Regions from separate parts of the Homo sapiens genome. Here region 1 is linked to region 2. Evidence: promoter capture Hi-C in 16 types of primary human blood cells and fetal thymus (Javierre and others, 2016). All regions are on one chromosome and are shown on one strand. The core of a region is centred on a gene start or on the middle of the fragment in contact, and the rest is flanking DNA. Distances in the headings are between cores, read along the strand shown. Region 1 overlaps C15orf61 (chromosome 15 open reading frame 61). Region 2 holds the start of FEM1B (fem-1 homolog B).

Region 1 (3,746 bases), core at 389-2,888, 750 kb before region 2:
TTTTTTAAATCAATATGTTAACTGAAAACTATGATAAATACTATAAAAGAAAATTGTCAGTGTCACCAGGTATTCCTTAAATTTATATACTTAGCCTTGGTTTAAGAGGCCTATTTTATGTATTTTAGTCTCAGTATGCTTAGAAAATTAGTAATTGCTTCTAGAGCCTATTTTTTTTCTTCCTCACTCCATTGATTTTCAGCTTTGAAGTTGTGATATTGCATTTTAAATTTATTTTTTATTTCAACTACTCCCTATACTTCACTCTCATTTCTGCCTAGCTTGTTCATATTCTTCTTTTTCTACCTCCCACCCCTGAGCCACTTGCCTTTTTTTTTCTTTGTGGTTAAATGATTTATAAGTAGCTTTATTATTCTAGTTTTTGTGGATTTTTTTATGACATTCCCTTGAGGTATTCAGAGATTCTTTTGGACATTATCAGGGCAAAGAAGGTGATACACTATAAAAGGTTTCATGGGAGTTCCAGGGAACCCTGTGATGGTGACAAACTGTGACCCAGTATATTCCTAAAAATAGAGAGATGCCAGCCTGAATGGGCATTTTTTTCCCCTTCTCATTACCAGCTAGTGATGTGATGCTTCTCCTGATTAATCTCTGGCATCACAGTGGCTGGAATGAAGCTTCAGGGAGTAAGCACAAAGTGGTTCAGCAAACACACTCAAAAAGAGCTTAACACAGCAAATATATTCTTGCAGAAAAATAAGACCAAAATTTAGCAATATGATTAGTCCAGAGCATGTGTTGCTTTTTTGTTTGTTTTTTTTTTTTTTTTTTGAGATGGAGTCTCCCTCTGTCGCCAGGCTGGAGTGCAGTGGTGTGATCTCGGCTCAGTGCAACCTCTGCCTCCTGGGCTCAAGCAATTCTCCTGCCTCAGCCTCCTGAGTGGCTGGGATTATAGGCATGCGCCATCACGCCCAGCTAATTTTGTATTTTTTGTAGAGACGGGGTTTCTCCATGTTGGTCAGGCTGGTCTCGAACTCCCAACCTCAGGTGATCCGCCTGCTTCGGCCTCCCAAAGTGCTGGGATTACAGGCGTGAGCCACAGTGCCCAGCCGCGTTCTTTATTACTAGAAAGAAAGTGATTTTCCAAATGTACAGCTATCCTTTTAAAGTGTCACTTTCTGCCCATTTCCCACATAAGAGCATAAAATTAATGCTTGTCCAGAGCATACAGTATTTGTTATTGATTCATGTGCCTATGGTTTTATTACATATGTTTTTAATATGTTAGTAGTCATTAATTTTAAATAAGTACCTTTAAAAAGATAGGAATTGTGAAAGTTTGTTTTGTGCCAACAGTCTTATATGCATGTGAGTGCTTAATACATATCTCTGGATAGTGTGTTTAGTTTCATGTATCACAAATGGCAACTAATCTCAAAGCAGCAAAATCTTATCAATTCCAAAGAAGAAACACATGTTGGAGTCTACTATATATCTATTTCAAATTGGTTGAAATGAGGTTGTTTTCAGATCAATTGAAAAAATGCTAATAATAGTTTTTTTTCTCATGCCTGTTGTACTGAAATCTTACTTGGAGTTAGGTTTTGCTTTAGATTTTAAAGACAGCTCTTTGACCGAGCTTCTTTTAAGTTGTACAAAAATTACTTCAACCATTAGTGTTACTACTAACTTAAAGAACAGTAATGTTGGCCGGGCGCGGTGGCTCACACCTGTAATCCCAGCACTTTCGGAGGCCTAGGCCCAGGATCACAAGGTCAAGAGATCGAGACCATCCTGGCCAACATGGTGAAACCCCATCTCTACTAAAAAAGTACAAAAATTATCTGAGCGTGGTGGCGCGCGCCTGTAGTCCCAGCTACTCAGGAGGCTGAGGCAGGAGAATCGCTTGAACCCAGGAGGCGGAGGTGGCAGCGAGCCGAGATCGCGCCACTGCACTCCAACCTGCCAACAGAGTGAGACTCCATCTCACAAACAAACAAACAAACAGTAGTGTTAACTTAGTAATTTTAGCTCAAGGCTAATAATCAGGAGCGTCTACAACTAAATTAATGAGTATTCTTCTCCATTTTCTTATTTATGAAAAGAATATAGCATTACTTCATGATTATTTGAGGGTAATGAATTTATGAAGTACTCGAATTAACATTTATACCCGCCTTGTCTATAGTATGAAAACCTCTGGACTCACGTGATTGCCATCATGTGCCACGTTGATGAAATTGAGCTCTTAGATAATCAGAGTCAATGTTGATTAATATTTTTATATTTTATCACATTGTAATTTGTTAACATTGCTGAAGAGTGTTATACGTGATCAGTAACTTGCATGATTAATAAGCATTGATGTTTATACATATTCGTTTGTTTTCTAGGTATTCCAACTTTATTATATGGACTTGGCTCCTGGTTATTTGCCAGAGTCACAGAGACTGTGCATACCAGTTATGGACCCATAACAGTTTATTTTCTCAATAAAGAAGATGAAGGTGCCATGTATTGAAAGTGTGCGTCAAAGAACATAAATATCAGTGGATTTTCTCTGTGTATATGTGCAGTATTTATTTTTGATCCTTTAAAATAAAACTTTTGCAAATACTTTTTTCTTTCTACAGTATCTGCTTCTTTAAGATGAATCATTGCCCTCAAGAGGTGAAGCTTTTTATACATCGTTATATATTACATACTCTGTTTAGCTGATGTGAACTACAAACACATGAAGCTTCACACCATTTTTTCCCTAGAACTAGGTTAACCTACAGATAAAAAATGATTACAATGTAATAGATTCTATAGTTAATTAACAATTTAAATCAACTCTGAAGAGAAAATATAGATGCCCACACAAAAGAGAAGGGGGGAAAATCTTTTATGTAACAATGGAAAAAGAAGTAGAAGACATTAGGATGTATGATGGAAATATTACATCATTGGCAAATCCAAAATTGATGAGAATCTAATTGTAATCTCAAGTCTAAACCATTCAGCTGCCAGGATTGTAAATAGAAACGTTTTAAAGGCCTTGTGCCATTTACCTGGAGGAGGGGTTGGAGTGTAATGTTGAAACTTCTTGTTGCTTAAAGAGTCCAAAACCATATCGTTTGTAAAATGTAATAATAACTGGTTAATATAAGTGTAGCAAGGTGAATGAAACTCAGACTTATTAAAAGTTAAAACAGCTTTCCTATAAAGCTGTAAGAACAATTAAGATCTTCTAGAAAGATGCAGAAAAATAAATTTGGTAACTGTTTATAAAAGCAATTAACTGAAATGGTACATATCCATAGACTTATTGGCAATAAGGAGTGGGCTGAAATTTTAAAGACCTAATGGCACTTTTGCATTTGAATTTTATTAACTTAATTGCATTTTTGAAAGCCAAGTCATTTAAAAAAATGTATCCTTGGGGTAGTCACAAAATACCCAGATGAATGGTAAATTTCAGACATTTGGAGTAATTTAGGGAGAACTAAGTAGAACTATTTAATTTCTAAACCAATGGGTGTTTAAGATTTATGATCTCTCCCATAATTACAAACATACATTATATATCATTTTATGTTAATGTGTTGCTGATACTCTGCAACACTTACACATTTTTGTAGCAAAACATTTTATAAAATTCAACATTTGGATGCTTATGTCAAGTCAGTAGAGAAAGTGAGTGGAAGTGACTGAGGTGAAGGCACCAGAATAATGAAGTAATACAAACTAGCTTCGTTAAAGGTAGTCATTTTAAATGATCTACAGAGTGAACTGTTCTT
Region 2 (3,485 bases), core at 90-2,589:
AAATAATGTATGTGAACTTGTTGAGCCGAGCCCAGTCCCTTGGAGCCACATAAATGCATTTGTTCTTTCTCTATGGTAAATTTTGTCCTTTGGGGAAGGGAGGAAGAGGGAGGAAGTCACTTTCATATTGAGTTTTTTGAGACTGTCCCAGAAGCTTCATCACCTACCATTCACTCCTACCATCCTAATCCAAGGCCTGTCCCCCTATCTACTCTTGCCTTCCAGAGTTTATTCTCCATACAGCAGCCAGAGTGATCTTTTTAAAAAACACAAATAGCATCTTGTCACTTCCCTCTTTAAAACCCTTCAAATGCCCCCATCACAGAGTAGACTTAAACCCTTTGCTATGGGTTATTAGGCCCTAACGTGTGTTGCATCCTCTGACTTCATCTATCATTCTTACTGTGGCCCACTCTGCTGCAGCCACACTGACCTTTCTGTTTCCGAGCTCACCAGACTGTTCCCTCCTCAGGACTTTTATATTAGCTGTCCCCTTTGCCTAGAATACCGTCTGTTCTTGTCACTTGTCATAGAGGTCTTGTCTGATCACCCAAACTAAATGAGTGCCCCCATCATTCTATTTCATTTGCTTCAGAGCAAATGGTAATGATACCAGTTCAACTGATCTTGTCTATCATTTGTTGACTTATTTGTTCCATTACTGAATCCCTAGTGCTAAGCAGAGCCTGGCACGTAGTCGACCTCTAATATTCATTGGATAAACGATCGTTTCAAATCCTAACAACAATCTTGTGATGTCTGTGAGAAAACGGAGGTTCTGCCGGCTCAGGATGAGATTCCTGCTCTGTCTGAACGCGGGACTCGCTTTCCTTCCCAGGATACCTCGCTCCTTCCACCGCGAGCGCAGCTCCCCTTCGCTCCCATCTTTCTCTCACACTTAACCCCTTTCTCCGGGAAAGTCAGGCCGTACTTCCAGTCCCTTCTCAGAGCCTGGTGTTGTGGCTCTCAAGCCCTCCCACATTTCGGGAACTCAGAAACGCCGCCCTTTTCCTGAAATGGACCCTCCGAGTACGCGCAACCCCTTCCCTAACCCCGGCTCAGGGGCAGAAGCAGGACCCGCACCGTCTATAGTAAAATAGGGTGGTCTCCTTAGCCCATCAGCTTAGCGCCCTCACTCCGCCCCCACTCCCTGGCTGGAGACCCTCAGGGCCGTTTAGGGGCCAGGAGGAGGTTCCAGGAGTCAAGGACATTGAGGACATCCAGGCCCAAACGGGATGGGCCAACTACGCGCAGCAGAACCTTTCTCTACCGGGCCCGCGTGTGCCCGCCGGTCGGCTTAGGCGGAGACACCCCACTTAGCGTCCCTCCCGCTCCCGCCCTCTCCTCCCGGCCCTGTCTGCGAAAGCTCGTCTTCCTCCCCGCCCAAGTTCCGGCGCCGCTCTTGCGGGAGCGTTCCGCATCGCCCCGGGGGCCCCTACGCGAGGATCTCCGGGGCCGTTGGCAGCGCCTGGCACTTCTGAGCTCGGCGGACGAGAGCCTGCAGGTTTCCTCCAGTCAGGGACGGCGAAGGGCGGAAAGCGCAGGAGGAGGCAGTGTTAGGCCTTAGGCCGGGTGGGCCGGGTCAGGAGAGACGCGCCCATCTTTCGCCATCCGGGGTGCGCGAGGTCCTCTCGGGACCCGGCCGGCGACCCGTAGCTCGGGCACGCGCCTGTCGCATCCCGCAGGAAGGAGGGGTCCGGCCTGAGGCCCGGGGCGGCGTCCGCCATGGAGATCCCCTCGGTCCAGGGCCGGCGCCTGGGACCTGGCGGGCGGCCCTGACCGCCTTCCTCCCTGCGCGGGCTGGGTCGCGGACGTGCCCTTCGCGGCACTCGGCCTCCTCTGCGTCTCCGCCTTCCCTGGGCCGCACTGCTGCCTGGGCGCGGCGGCGGCGACGGCGCCCTGTTGAATGGGCTGTGAGGGCCCAGGTTTAAAGCGCTGGCGAACGCGGCCTCCGGGGGCGCACGGCAGCTGCAGCGGTGGCGACCAAACGGGTGTTGGAGTTGGCGGCGGCCATGGAGGGCCTGGCTGGCTATGTATACAAGGCGGCCAGCGAGGGCAAGGTGCTGACTCTGGCCGCCTTGCTTCTCAACCGGTCTGAAAGCGACATCCGCTATCTGCTTGGCTATGTCAGCCAGCAGGGAGGGCAGCGCTCCACGCCCCTCATCATCGCAGCCCGCAATGGACACGCAAAGGTGGTACGCTTGCTCTTAGAACATTACCGGGTGCAGACTCAGCAGACTGGCACCGTCCGCTTCGACGGGTAGGTACATCCCAAGCCAGCCTCTCTCCGACGCGCGCGGACTCGTTAATTCACGGGCCCTCCCCTCCCTCACCCTCTCTTACCCTCTCTTCATGTAGGTACTCACTTCTCCCCTTTTTGTACCACCTCCTGCCCCACTAATGCCCACTTCATCTTCCAGGGCTAATAATCCATCCCATGTTTTGCTGCCCGTCCTCATCAGCCCCTACCCCTCATTCCCTCTGTGGGAAGATAACCACACCCTCGGCCTTGAAATCTAATAGTCGTCTTCTCTACTAGATAGTCTGTGAACAAGCCATTTGGAGGAGGTGGCTGCCTTTCCAGGTTTTACTTTTAGTGGAACTGGTGATGTAACTGATCAGAAATTAAGGAGGTCAGCGGTTAACATTGAAGAACTCCGAAAGAGTTATTTGGGCATCCATTTTTACTCCCTTCAAGTGAGTGGTTCCGTAAAACCTTCAGTGGGCTGCTGGGCTTTAATGTCAAAATAAGCACCTAGAACCAGCAGCAGCTGCAGCATCATGAGGGATTGTCACGCAGCCAGACATCTCAAGACATGATTCTGATTCCTCCACGTTGCTCGGTGTAGATATATTGGCTACTAAGATGGCATTGGACCTGATGTGGGAGATGATGCCATTCTTAAATTACATCTTATCCCGTGATGTTGTGGGGAAGCTTGATCATTTACTGTTAGTTGAGGTGGGAAGTTTAAAAATGCACATTGTTATGCCTAAGATTTGCCCTTTGAGTTTAATTGTACGAATTTTTGGGTATTTGACCAGAATTGTCAGGTTTGACATTATCCTCTTTTCTATGCTGGAGGATTATAACACGTTTTACAGATTACAACTGTATAACGATTTTGCTACATATGTTTTGGTTGACTTGTGGTAGTACATAAGCTATTTTAGCATTTTTTTTTTCTTTTGAAGTCAGTAGGGTCTGAGCATAAAAATATATATCTTTAGTTTTTGGTGATTAGAAACTGCCTGGCTAAAACTCGACTGAAAAAAACATTTCTTCTTTAAGATGACTAGGGAAATGTTCTGTTTCGGTTGATTCTTTTTTAGGTTTAAACAATAAAAGCTTTTTCTTCTATTTTAGATGAGTGGAAAATATTCATAGCATTACATCTTAATGAAATGGTAGCCCATGGGCAATGGCTTATATCACGGGTATCACCATTATACACATTAAGGAGATGTTTTTTTTCATGTTGACC

The links. Contacts are between HindIII fragments. The CHiCAGO score rates a contact against its expected background, and 5 or more counts as called.
Region 1: a contact is called between a fragment that was not itself captured here and the fragment with the promoter of FEM1B in region 2, in 1 of 17 cell types (non-activated CD4 T cells). The highest score is 5.0, in non-activated CD4 T cells.

What each region holds. Positions count from the first base shown.
Region 1 is chr15:67,524,061-67,527,806 of GRCh38, forward strand. It overlaps C15orf61 (chromosome 15 open reading frame 61), which reads left to right. Exons shown (of 2, transcript NM_001143936.2): 2 at 2,358-3,746. The coding sequence ends at 2,485. Among named protein-coding and RNA genes, the nearest start is that of IQCH-AS1, 4.1 kb to the left of the region's middle. The HindIII fragment of the contact is 1,999 bases long and covers 640-2,638 here.
Region 2 is chr15:68,276,406-68,279,890 of GRCh38, forward strand. FEM1B (fem-1 homolog B) reads left to right here and starts at 1,340. Exons shown (of 2, transcript NM_015322.5): 1 at 1,340-2,260. The coding sequence starts at 2,013. RefSeq lists enhancers at 1,336-2,237, 1,980-2,179 and a silencer at 1,620-1,949. The HindIII fragment of the contact is 2,784 bases long and covers 153-2,936 here.